2 separate regions of the Homo sapiens genome follow, and region 1 is linked to region 2. Evidence: promoter capture Hi-C in 16 types of primary human blood cells and fetal thymus (Javierre and others, 2016). All regions are on one chromosome and are shown on one strand. The core of a region is centred on a gene start or on the middle of the fragment in contact, and the rest is flanking DNA. Distances in the headings are between cores, read along the strand shown.

Evidence for each region. The method cuts DNA at HindIII sites, captures the fragments that hold promoters and counts their contacts. A CHiCAGO score of 5 or more calls a contact.
Region 1: a contact is called between the fragment with the promoter of TNFSF10 here and the fragment with the promoter of GPR160 in region 2, in 1 of 17 cell types (neutrophils). The highest score is 5.1, in neutrophils.

Annotation. Positions count from the first base shown.
Region 1 is chr3:172,518,647-172,525,282 of GRCh38, forward strand. It overlaps TNFSF10 (TNF superfamily member 10), which reads right to left and starts at 4,784. Exons shown (of 5, transcript NM_003810.4): 1 at 4,607-4,784. The coding sequence starts at 4,738. It also overlaps the pseudogene TBPL1P1. RefSeq lists an enhancer at 4,716-4,765. The HindIII fragment of the contact is 8,260 bases long and covers 4,289-6,636 here.
Region 2 is chr3:170,032,769-170,039,786 of GRCh38, forward strand. It overlaps GPR160 (G protein-coupled receptor 160), which reads left to right and starts at 5,227. Exons shown (of 4, transcript NM_014373.3): 1 at 5,227-5,447; 2 at 6,147-6,275. RefSeq lists silencers at 5,202-5,681, 5,992-6,041, 6,202-6,251 and an enhancer at 6,107-6,606. The HindIII fragment of the contact is 12,490 bases long and covers 1,895-7,018 here.

The DNA.
Region 1 (6,636 bases), core at 3,534-6,033, 2.5 Mb after region 2:
ATTTGTGAAGGTCCAATCCAATGTTATGAAGCCTTCCTTAACCCTTACACCCTATAATCCTTGCAGAGTGTATCTTCTGCAAATGTTCACCAGACAAAGTGGAGCCTGTATTCAATTTTAAGAAATTAATACTTATGTTGAATATACTTTTCCAAAGTCTACACAGAAGATTCAAACTTATTTTCCCTTTGGAAAATTTCTGATGAAGAAAGTGACACCTTCAGGAGACTTTTCAGCAGTAATTAGAACGCTACTATAAAAATAGCATTGTATTGTATTGAAAAAATGTATTGTAAAAAAAAGTAGGTGCTTCAATTTATTGAGTACCTCCTTCATGCCTGGGTTCAAAATCAGGTTTTACCTTTTACTAGTTTTGTAATCTTGAACAAATCTCTTAACTTCGCCTGAGCTTTAGTTTGTTCATCTGTAATATGGGGTAATTATACTTACATAATAGAATTGTTATGAGAATTGAAACCAGGCAATACTTTTCAAAGTTGCTGGTACACAGTAATTGCTCAATATCTGTAATTCTCCTAGCTTTCTAGCACTCTCAATGAATTCTTCTGCATGCCTAATGTACATGTGTTCATATGTCAATATGCAATTAGGAAAAATGTATGCAAGTGGGAAGATCTTAAGCCTTATATGAAATTTCCATTTTTATAGTAGAATTGAAAAAGAAATTTGATTATATATACAGACAATTGCATGAGTCAGTTGAGTAAAGAACTGGTTGATTCAATCTTAAAATTAGTCCAACTTGTAATGTAAGCAAATTGATGGAGCTACTTGTGTGTGGAGTAACAGCTTTACTCTGTTTATGCTGCAAAGTTAAGAAAGGTTAGGAAATTCTGGCTCCAAATTGGTGAACATAGCAGTATTCCAGTCTCTCGTGTAGACTTAAAGCTAAAGGTATGATTACAGTTTCATTAATATTTTTTTCTTACAAAAGAAAATCTTTTCTAAATGTGTCCTACAATAAACCTGACTTTACTGGTCATCTAATAGTAGCCATAATTTTCATAATTAGTTGCAAATAAAACAAGAGTCTGCCTCATCCATTTCCAAAAGAAAAATTTCCGACTGATTGGGATAACCAAACTTACATTCCACAGGATATGCAAACTACATTTCCCTAGCAAATAGTTACTACTCTATGTCTTTTGCACAATTTATACTTTTCTGAGATCCTTAGCCTTTCATTTCCTAGTCAGCTGGCAGAGTTGGTGCTGCAGGATGCGCTGTGCATGCACAGTGTACATCACAAGGTGTAGATAGGTTAACCCTGTGGACATCCCACTGTGGAGGGAAGAGCCTACAGACCTGGGTGCTAGCCGCCCCACGGCCAGCCTCCAAAGCCTTGTCTGAACTTGAGTACATTATTTCTTGTCTCCTCGTCTGTAAAAAGTGGTTGTGGTGGTGGGGGGAGGATCTGACGTTCCTTGCAGCTCATAATTCTCTACTATTTAATATACAATGAATTAAAATATATATTAGAAGTCAAAAACTGAGTTGGTTTATTTTCAGCAATTTTGCAGTCATAGTTCCAGGGGTTTTCATCGAGAAAATCATAAATTAAAATAGCACTGTTTGTTTGTTTTGTCTGTCAAAGATACCTCAATTTGTACATGGACCATCCACAGGCAGAGATTGGCAGTTTGCTTTTCAATTGTTTTATCATGAACAGCTGTGTCTATCTGATAACTTCTTTATTACAGATTTTACCCATGACATGCCCGTGCCCCAGGAATAGGCAGAATGCCAGTCCTTTGTATTCTCACTTATTGTCAACACAGGAATGCCACATAACTAAAAGCAAAACATTTCAAAGATGTGAAAGTTCACCAGGACTAGCTACATCTGGAATACAAAACGGGAGTGTTCAGTGACTTAGGGCCTGGCTTTGGGTTGAGCCTGACTCTACCCTTGTCGCCTGCATATTCGTGGTGCCTACCACATCTGTGAAGGCTGTTCATTCACTCAATAAGTATGTAGTGAACCACAAGTATTAGTATTAGTGGCTACTTGGGAACCACATGCTAGACCCAGAGGTATACTAATGAGCAGAAGCAGACACAGCTCTGATACAGCTACCCTCACCCTCAAGAATTCATGAGTCAAGAACTGTAACTCCAACCTGCAACAACAAAGCAGGGAAGATGGCTACAGTTACCAAAACAGCATGTTACTGGTATGGAAACAGATACATAGACCAATGGAACAGAACAGAGGCCTCAGAAATAACACTACACATCTACAACCACCTGATCTTTGACAAACCTGACAAAAACAAGCAATGGGGAAAGGATTCCCTATTTAATAAATGGTGCTGGGAAAACTGGCTAGCCATATGCAGAAAACAGAAACTGGGCCCCTTCCTTACAGCTTCTACAAAAATTAACTCAAGATGGATTAAAGACTTAAACGTAAAACCTAAAAGCATAAAAACCCCAGAAGAAAACCTAGGCATACCATTCAAGATGGCATGGGCAAAGACTTCATGACTAAAACACCAAAAGCAATTGCAACAAAAGTCAAAATTGACAAATGGGATCTAATTAAACTAAAGAGCTTCTGCACAGCAGAAGAAACTATCATCAGAGTGAACAGGGAACCTACAGAATGGGAGAAAATTTTTGCAATCTACCCATCTGACAAAGGTCTAATATGCAGAATCTACAAGGAATTTGTTTCTTGTAAAACAAATTGACAAGAAAAAAACCACATCAAAAAGTGGGCAAAAGATATGAACAGATACTTCTCAAAAGAAGACATTTATGTGGCCAACAAACATGAAAAAAAGCTCATCATCACTGGTCATTAGAGAAATGCAAATCAAAACCATAATGAGATACCATCTCACTCCAGTTAGAATGGTGGTCATTAAAAAGTCAGGAAACAACAGATGCTGGAAGGATGTGGAGAAATAGGAATGCTTTTACACTGTTGGTGGGAGTATAAATTAGTTCAACCAGTGTGGAAGACAGTGTGGCAATTCCTCAAGGAACCAGAAATACCATTTGACTCAGCAATCCCATTACTGGGTATATACCCAAAGGATTATAAATCATTCTACTATAAAGACACATGCACACATATGTTTATTCCAGCACCATTTACAATAGCAAAGACTTGGAACCAACCCAAATGCTCATCAGTGATAGACTGGATAAAGAAAATGTGGCACATATACACCATGGAATACTATGCAGCCATTAAAAAGAATGAATTCATGTCCTTTGCAGAGACATGGATGAAGCTGGAAGCCATCATTCTCAGCAAACTAACACAGGAACAGAAAACCAAACACTGCATGTTCTCACTCATAAGTGGGAGTTGAACAGTGAGAGCACATGGACACAGGGAGGGCAACACACACACTGGGGCCTGTCGGGGGTGGGAGGCTAGGGGAGGGAGAGCATTAGAACAAATCCTAATGCCTGTGGGGCTTACAACCTAGATGATGGGTTGATGGGTGCAGCAAACCACCATGGCACATGTATACCTATGTAACAAACCTGCACGTTCTGTACACGTATCCCAGAACTTAAAGTAAAATAAAAAAATTTAAAAATAAAGAAATCTGTTTGCCAGAATTCACAAAGAGCAATAGACCTCATGTGAGTTATGAATCTGAACTTCATCCTGCTGTGTGCTATTGGATAAAGACTCTAAGAGCTACATTACAGATTTTTTCGACAGGAAGTATCACAGTAACAAGGCCCTATTTAAAGGCTGTTGCTACTGCTGTGGAACAGATTTACCCATTTGTGTTTGAAAGCAGGAAAGAAATTTTATCATTCACCACTTAATTGGTTAGAATCTCTTACTGTGCACCTTTTAAAACCTGCTGCACATTGGACTCAAAAGGAAAACTGAACCAACGGTAATTGAGGAAATAGACTCTTTTATTTATTCATGGCTACAGTGTAAGCTCCAGTCCCTTTGGATTTTATTCCAAACCTTGTTATAATATAAAAAAGGAAGTTTACAAGACATGTCATTGCTGCTTTTACAAAAGGACATTCTATTTATTTTCGCAGGAATTCTCATGTCCCCATAAGCAGAGCTGTCACAGTGTGCACTACCTTAGGTTGTTTTATTGTTGTCATTGTTATTTTTTTCCATTTTGAGCTAATGTGTTTTATCTGTGAATAGTCTTTTACATTTTTGTATGCTGAAAATGGGCACCAAAGAACCTGTAAAAATTATCTTTTTCAATTGAATGTGCACAAATAAAAGTTTGGAAAAGGAAAACAAAAGAACTACAAAGCATTTAGCAGAAAGCTTTCATGAAGAGTTGCAATGGCTGATATTATAAAATACACATACTTTTAAAAACAAAAAATCCCTCAGGAGTTTTGTTGCCCACATCTGCTAGTAACTAGTGAAGCCAGTTGTGTAACTGCACTTAGTTTACACAATTTCTTGAACTTACAGTTTTGCAAAGACCTCAGTTGTTATGTGATTTAGCAGTTAGAGTGTACCCACAGAGAAAGGAAGCAGGAAAGTCTTCAGAGAGGGGCAAGCTGACATGCAAAGAAGCAGGTAACCAGACATTTGCTAAGCGCCTCGAAGACTGAGTGCACTGCACTGCACTGACCTGCTTCAGCTCGTTGGTAAAGTACACGTAAGTTACAGCCACACAGAGAGACTGCAGGAGCACTGTGAAGATCACGATCAGCACGCAGGTCTGTCCCAGGCTGGGTCCCCCCTGGACCTCCATCATAGCCATGATCCTGTCAGAGTCTGACTGCTGTAAGTCAGCCAGGCAGCCGGTCACTGAAGCCCTTCCTTCTCTATTCTTTTATAGTCAGTGAGGAAATGAAAGCGAATGAGTTGTTTTTCTGGGTTCTGTGGCCTTGGCCCCACCCACATCTATTGAACCTGCAACTGTCCCTCCCCTTTCCTACTGCCCAGGGACAGCTCTTGTCTCAAAGTAGTCGTTGGAAAGGAGGGAAACTGAAAGAAGCTCCTCTCCTTGCCCTCAGGATCCATGCACCCCTTATCTGCACTCACCTCAAGCCCATTTCTCTCTTCTCTTTCTTGCTCTCCTTTTGATAATGTCCTCAGCCAAAGAGGGGAGGGATTTTCTTTGCTTTTCCCTAACATATCCTCATTCTACCACAGAGCTCTAAGCCTCATGGCCTGGCTGTCATAGGCACAAGGCCTGTTTTCTAAATTATAAGATAATTTTTATGACCTGAAACTTCCATATGTGGTTTTTCTCATGCTACTGTGAGGGTGGGAAGAGGGCAGGGTGGGAGTGGATAAAGGAAAATAGAAATACTGTCTCATAGCAATGGTCTTGCTACATAATTCCATCTTGAATGTCAGAATCTAAATATTGACGACTTCTTCCTCTTTGCAAACCTTCAGACACAAATTCTAATCTCCTTCTCAGATCTCCATCCCTACCAAGACAACATGCCTGTGTGTTAGGCTGGACAGGTAGGAAGTAGTTGACACACTCAGAAAGGCAAAGGAAAAAAACATGTGGATGTTTTCCAAAATATTAACCCCATCACAATGTCTCGCTGTCACTATCCTTTTACAGATTAGGAAAAGAAGTTACAGGGAGTTAATTACCCTCAGATTCAGGACCCAGCCCCAAATCTCCCCACTATCAGATGTCATAAGCTGGCCCAGCTGTATGTTGTCTCTATATCTTATTCAGCATTTCTTTCTTTCCTTTTCTTCCTTTCTTTCTTTCTTTCTTTTCTTTTCTATTCTTTCCTTCTTTCCTTCTTTCTTTCTTTCTTTCTTTCTTTCTTTCTTTCTTTCTTTCTTTCTTTCTTTCTCTCTTTCATGTATTTATTTATTTTTTTGACAGAATCTCACTTTATCGCCCAGGCTGGAGTGCAGTGGTGCAATGGCACAATCTCGGCCCACTACAACCTCCACCTCCCAGATTCAAGCAATTCTCCTGCCTCAGCCTCCCAAGTAGCTGGGATTACAGGTGCATGCCACCATGCCCAGCTAATTTTTTTGTATTTTTAGTAGAGATGGGGTTTTACCATGTAGGCCAGGCTGGTCTCGAACTCCTGACCTCAAGTGATCCTCTTGCTTCAACCTCCCAACGTGCTGGGATTACAGGCATGAACCACTGCATGGGGCCATTGTTTAGTTATTCCATTCTTGACCCACTGAGTCAGAGTTTCTGGCAGTGGACTTAGGAACCTACATTTTTCAGCAAGTACTCCAAGAGATCCTTTGAAACCTAAAGTTTGGGACCCTAGATCTACAGTTACATTCCTGAGTTCATTCAGGCACCGCTGGTCACCATCACTTCCTGCCCTTGCCTTCTATCTGTAAATGAGTCTATATTTAAGAAAATATTTTCAAATTTTAAATTTGCCTCTGTCAAATTGCCAAATTTTTAAATGCAAATTCCTTTCAGACACAGACAAATTGGCAAGGTAGCATTTTTCCTACTAAAAGTTTTAGACATTATGTGAACCTAACACTATTTGAACACACTTACACTCTAAGTCCTAGACTGAATGAGTTTTTTAAATCAGGTGAAAGATGAGTAGGATAACCGTAATGCACAAGACACACAGCCGGGCAGGGCAGAAACAAGAAACGAGAGATGGCAGAGAAACACAGGGGAGAAGACCAAAGAAAACCAAC
Region 2 (7,018 bases), core at 3,977-6,476:
TCCACCGACTATCCCAAAACCTGTAAGAACTAATGATAATCCACCATCCTTTGCTGACTCCTTTTTCGGACTCAGCCCACCTGCACCCAGGTAAATAAACAGCCTTGTCGCTCACACAAAGCCTGTTTGGTGGTCTCTTCACACAGATACCTGAGAAAGAGGAGGCTTCCTGGTCATAGGTAGAGAAGAAACAAATGATTGCATTCTTTTGAGTTTCTGATTAGCCTCTGATTAGGCTCTTTCATTTATACTAGCCAGTGACTAATGGGTGACTTTGAATAGAATGGGAGGCAGGTTTGCCCTAAGCAGTTCCCAGCTTGACTTTTCCTTTTAGCTTAGTGATTTGGGGGCCTCAAGATATTTTCCTTTCACATAATATAGTTAGAACACAGGCCTATGTCCTGTTTATAATGTGGTATCTTATTGCCACAAAGAGTCTATTCTGTCAGCCTTATGATCTCTATTTTAACATTAATGCTGGTCAGTTGTGTCTAAACCATAAAAGGGAGGGGTATAATGAGATGTGGTTGACCTCCCATCTTGTCATGGCCAGGAACTCAGTTTAAGGCTTTTCTGGGGTCCCCTTGGCCAAGAGAGGTTCTTTTCAGTCGGTGGGGGGCTTAGGATTTTATTTTTAGGTGACAAGGCTTTTCTTTGGGAACAATAGTATATCTAGTGGGATTATATTCAATTCCATGGAACAAACCCTGACCTTAAACAAGTAAGGGGGTTGCTTTTCTCGTGTAGTAAGACATCTGGAGCTAGGCACAGCTAGGTGGGTGCGGCTCCACCTTTATTGTGGGCTGTCCCAGAGTCTAAGACTACTGCTCCACCTCCAGCCTCAAGGCAACCTCACAGCAACCTCAAAGCAGGAAGGAAACAGGAGGCTGAGAAAAGGGGTAGTACCCGCAACAGGAAAGCAAAAACCTTCCCAGGACTTGCCAGCTGACGTCCTCCTATATCTCAATGGCCAGAATTGTGTCACGGGACCATTTCCTCCTACATCTCATTGGCCAGAACCATGTCATGTGATCACCCCTGCGATGACCTCGCGAAAGTGGGCATCTTAGCTTGGCACATTGCCTCCCTGTACAAAATCTGGGTTCTCTTAGAAGTTAAGAAGGCGAGAATGGATTTGAGGAGGCAGTTAGCAGTGCCCCGTAAAGAACTGACGGATCAGGGATGTCGGGAGAGGAGAAGCCGCCTCGGAAGTACCACTGGACTCTGGATTTCTAGGAGCTCTGGGCACCACTGTTGATGCATTTTGCTACAAGGAGGCAGGGAAAGATAGTCTTTGTTCCACGAAGCTCTGGGCTTAGCTTCAGTTCTATTACAGCCCCTTAATGACAGGGATACATTCTGAGAAATGCGTCTTTAGGCAATTTCATTTTGTGAACATGGAGTGTACTTACACAAACTTAGATGGTATAGCCTACTACACACCTAAGTTATATGGTATAGCCTATTGCTTCTAGGCTGCAAACTTCCACAGCATGTGACTGTACTGAATACTGTAGGCAACTGTACTGAATACTGTAGACAACGGTAAGAATTTATGTCTCTAAACATAGAAGAGGCACAGTAAAAATACAATATAAAAGATAAAAACGGTATACCCGTATAGAGCACTTACCATGAATGGAGCTTGCAGGGCTGGAAGTTGCTGTGGGTGAGTGAATGAAAAGGCCTAGGATATTACTGTCCACTACCGCAGACTTTATAAACACTACATTTAGGCTACACTAACAATAAGTTAATCTTGGCTTACTGTAACTTTTTTACTTTGTAAACTTTAAATTTTTTTTTAACTTTTTGACTCTTTTGTAATAATACGCCTTAAAACACAAATACGTTTCAGCTGTACAAAAATATTTTCTTCTATTCTTATTCTATAAGCTTATTTTTCCCATTTTGAAAATGCATTTATTTACCTTTTAAACTTTTTTTCTTAAAAACAAAGGTGCAGGCCTACACAGGGTCAGTATCATCAAGATATCACTAGGTGATAGGAATTTGTCAGCTCCATTCTAACCTTGTGAGGCCACTGTTGTAGATGTGATCCATTGTTAACCAGAATGTCATTGCAGCACATGACTTTATTACAGAAGAAGGAAAGAATGGACAGTGGGGAGCAACCAAGGTCTCTGTCTGCCACAGTTCCTCCACCAGCCCCTGAGACAGAGTTCCCCTCAGGAGGAGTCTGGTATGCGGACCCATGTACACATCATCTCTAGACAGAGAGACTTCAGGGCAGTTGTTGACATCGGCTTAAGAAATGGTGGGAGAGTGGCAGGCACTTGGGGATGCTGAAAGTATTTGAAGATAAATCCAGCCTCCCAGATCCGCCTGGAGAGAGGCATTGACAGGGCAGCCTGGCTGCTCAGAGCTACCCTACCCCAGCCTTGTCACTAGCAATATGTCTCTCCTTCCTGGGTCTCAGTCTCATTTTCCTCTTCTTTTTTTTTTTTTTTTTTTTTTTTGAGACAGAGTCTCGCTCTTGTCGCCCAGGCTGGAGTGCAATGGTGTGATCTCAGCTCACTGCAACCTCCGCTTCCCAGGTTCAAGTGATTCTCCTGCCTCAGCTTCCTGAGTAGCTGGGATTACAGGCGCCCGCCACCATGCCTGGCTAATTTTTGTATTTTTAGTAGAGACGGGGTTTCACCATGTTGGCCAGGCTGGTCTCAAACTTCTGACCTCATGCAGTCTGCCCACCTCAGCCTCCCAAAGTGCTGAGATTACAGGTGTGAGCCACTGTGCCCGGCTCTCATTTTCCTCTTCTATAAAGGAGAGTAATAACCCTACCTTGCAGGGTTGGCGTGAGGCTCGTTTGAAGTTATGTATGTCCAGCTCCTGTTCTATACTATCCACTCCCTAGATGATGGTTATTTTTGTTATGAGTATGATTTGGCCCCCATGCCCTCTGCTCTAACTCAACTCCCATCCTCTCCCTCTCAGGTCTTCTGACCCACTTGCCATTCCCTTATTAGAACATGAACTCTCTGCCTGGCTTTCCACTTCCCACTTTGCACACGTTGGAATCTTGGCGGAAGCACCTCACATCCCGTTGAACCCGGTACTCCTCTGTGATTCAGTTGGCCTCTGCACTTCTCCAGGAAGTTCTCTCTGCCACTCCAGGCCAGGTGAAGCTGCTCCTCAGTCTCCCTAGCAACCCACACTTAATTCTATCAGGGTTCTTCTTGCACCCTTGGGCAATTACTGAGTTCCTTGCAAGGCTAGTCCAGACTCTCAGTGTATAAACCACCCTTGAGGTAACTAATTCCATCTTAGAAAAACCCTCCATTTTATATTTCATGGGCACTTTGCTAACAAGGATAAGATGTTTTGCTTGACGAACAAATTTTAAAAAAGAACACAAACAAGCACACTCATCCACTATAAGTTCTCACCAGAGGACCCTCTGACTGTAAAAGAGCGAAGCCTTCAGCTTGGCTGTCTTCACTAACACCGTCTTGCAGTCACTCATGATAAGAACTCAGAATTTGCCACCGAAAGCTCTGCCACATCAAAGACTCTTCCTTGCAAGACCACCAGGCCCAGACCAGGACTCCCTTTGTCTTCTTCCCTCCCTTTGGACTGGTTCATTAACCCTTTCTCCTCTTCTTCGTCTTGATGTTAAATATTACTTTGTTGTGGAATGTTTAATCTACAACATTCGTATAGTGATTAAGTATACTAGTATGTATGGTTTGCAATATTTACTGACTTATGGAGTGGCTTGAACCTATGTGCTCTGACTACAGAGTGAATGGGAAGGACTAAGGAGAATTGCCTCCTTGGGAACTCCATGTAGCTCCTGGATTTTGTGATTGAAATAGCATTTAAAAAAAAAAAAAGACTGACATTGTGGAGAGATACAAACGTGTATGGACATGGTCATCTTTAATCTCTAACTGCTATGACACTCAGAGAGGTTGAGAGGCTCAGGACACTCCCCTTGTTCAAGGCTCTGCGTGAAGAGGAGAAGGAAGAAATTGTGCAATATTTTATTTTATTTTATTTGTTTCAGATGAAGTCTGTCTCTGTTGCCCAGGCTGGAGTGTAATGGCGTGATCTTGGTTCACTGCAACCTCTGCCTCCTGGGTTCAAGTCATTCTCCTGCCTCAGCCTCCCAAGTAGCTGGGACTACAGGCATGTGCCATTACGCCCAACTAATTTTTGTATTTTTAGTAGAGGCAGGGTTTCACCATGTTGGCCAGGCTGGTCTTGAACTCGTGACCTCAAGTGATCCACCCGCCTCGGCCTCCCAAAGTGCTGGGATTACAGGCTTGAGCCACTGCGCTGGCCTAATTGTTCGATATTTTAAATGTTTAAATGACCGGCAAGTCGTAGGTGCTCAACAAATATTTGTTGAATGACAACAAATTAGCACTGTTGACACAAAAAAGGCAATGCAATATATGGGCTATTTAATATTTGCAGATTTTTATTTAAAAATCTGAATTCACAGTACACTGCAGGCGGTTGCTTAGAAGCATACAAGTTTCAAGAAGTTCTGTCACCCTGTGTATACTCTTTTTTTTTTTTTTTTTTTTTTTTTTTTTTTTTTTTGATACGGAGTCTTGCTGTTGCTGCCCAGGCTGGAGTGCAGTGGTGCGGTCTTAGCTCACTGCAACCTCCGCCTCCTGGGTTCAAGCGATTCTCGTGCCTCAGCTTCCCAAATAGCTGGGATTACAGGTGCGTGCCACCAAGCCCGGCTAATTTTTGTATTTTTAGTAGACATGGGGACCAACGTGGACCATGTTGGCCAGGCTGGTCTCAAACTCCTGACCTCAAGTGATCCGCCCACCTTGACCTCCCAAAGTGCTAGGATTACAGGCATGAGCCACCGCCTGGCCACCCTGTGTAAACTCTTATCTGGAGACAACTGCCAAGTTTACATTTGCAGAGGTAAGGGAAGGAGAGGCCCTGACCCAGTGGCCCCCGCTCGCCCGCCTGCTGGGGAGATGGGGAGCTCCTAGGACAGGGGCCGGGTCCTCAAGATGTGGCATGAGGAAGGGGGTCTCACTGAGCCCCCAAGCGGCTCCCGCACTGCGCACCCCTGGCTGCGTCCCTCTGCCAGCCTCAACTCAGCCCTCTCCTAGCCGGCGGGGGGTGACAGTCTCTGTGATATCTTTCCGTCCCGCCGGCAGGCGGCGCCCTCCGGCCCTTGTTTCGTTGGGCCCGGACGGGACGTGCGCGCTCAAAGGTTGCCCGTCTCTGACGCCCGCATTTCCTGGTCTGGAGCCGGCTGAGCCACAGCAGGGTCGCCGCGGGGTCCCGGGGCCGTGCTCCCCTGCCCCTCCCGGGAGCGCGCGGGGCGGGGCGGGGCGGGGCGGGACCAGGCGGGCGAGCTGGGCCCTCGCCCCTCCCTCGGGCGGTCACCTGGGCACGGGCGCTGCAGGTGTCGGGGCCTCAACCTTGCGGAGCCGACAGCCATCGATCCTCGGGTGAGTGCGGGCGCAGGTGGAGGGCGCCCGGCGCTCTCGCCACCGGCGTCCCAGCCTCGGGGCGGCGAACGGTCCCCGCGCCGCTCCCAGCCTCCCTGGCCGGGCGTTCAGCGCGCCTGGGAGGGGAAGGAATTTCCTTTGCAGGAACTCAGGGGCTGGGGGTTCTCTGCTACTTAAGAGATCCAGGAGTGGAGCCCGGACGCCCGAGCCTTCCTGCTTCGGGATGGGGATTACCGCGGAGCCTTAGCAACTGGGGTCTGTCGTGGGTTTGAGGGCAGGGGGTCTGGGGAATGGGCGTGTCCCGCACCCAGAGACTCGCCACCCTCTCTCCAGGGGAGATGCTTTTTAAACATGACAAACCCAGCAAGGTTATAGAAATGGGTGTATGCAACTCTTCGCTCTTTCCTGGCGCCCAGAGGTGAATAGTCTCACACACACGCGCGCGCGCGCGCGTGCGTGCATTCATTGGGGCCGACTTTGCCTCCCCTCCCCTGGCCTCGAGCGTTGGGGACGGCGCCCCCGCCCGCGCCCGCCACTGGGATTAAGCCCCAGGGCCTTGCCCGGCTATTTGTTTTCCGAGGCCGTTGCGTCCGGGTAGGTTCCTGGATGACCATCCTGGCTGGCTCAAAATTCCCTCTAGATTACCTGCGACCACCCCCAGGAACCCGGAGACTGAAACTCCTTTTCTCACCTGCGCAGGTGGCCTCGAGGTGGTGGCAGGGCCGCCCCCTGCAGTCCGGAGACGAACGCACGGACCGGGCCTCCGGAGGCAGGTTCGGCTGGAAGGAACCGCTCTCGCTTCGTCCTACACTTGCGCAAATGTCTCCGGTAAGGGGAAGTGTCGCTTAAATCCCAGAGATAACCCCCACCGAGAAGCATCACAAAAGACATGAACGAGTGTTTAGCTCTCAGGATTGTTATTGCTTCGAGTGAAATGGTTTCTTGTGTGCTTTTGTGCATTTATATATAAATATAAACATATATGTATACATTTGACAAGCTCTAAGACCGGCACTTGTGATATCTCCAGAATAGAGTTATTATAGTTATTTGGAAATTGTCAGTGAGGATCAGCTTGGTTGCTATGCGAATTGCAGGGAGGAGGACCTGTGTGCAGTTTCAAAACGATTTAAGAGAAATTCGGTGGCAATACAAGGTGTGGACGTTGGTTGGATCCTGATTTGATGAATGTTTTTTAAAATGGAGATGATGCCCGAGTGCGGTGGCTCACACCTGTAATCCCAGCACTTTGGGAGGCCGAGGTGGGTGGATCACCTGAGGTCAGGGGTTCGAGACCAGCCTGGCCAACATGGTGAAACCCTTCTCTACTAAAAATACAAAAATTAGCTGGGTGTGGTGACACGCGCCTGTAATCCCGGCTACTCGGGAAGGCTGAGGTAGGAGAATCGCTTGAACCCGGGAGGCGGAGGTTGCAGTAAGCCGAGATGGCGCCACTGCACTCCAGCCTGGGAGGCAGAGCGAGACTCCGTCTCAAAATAAATAAATAAATAAGGAGACGATGAAGGACATTTCTACTGATTATTTGATGGTATCAAGGAAATTATAATAGT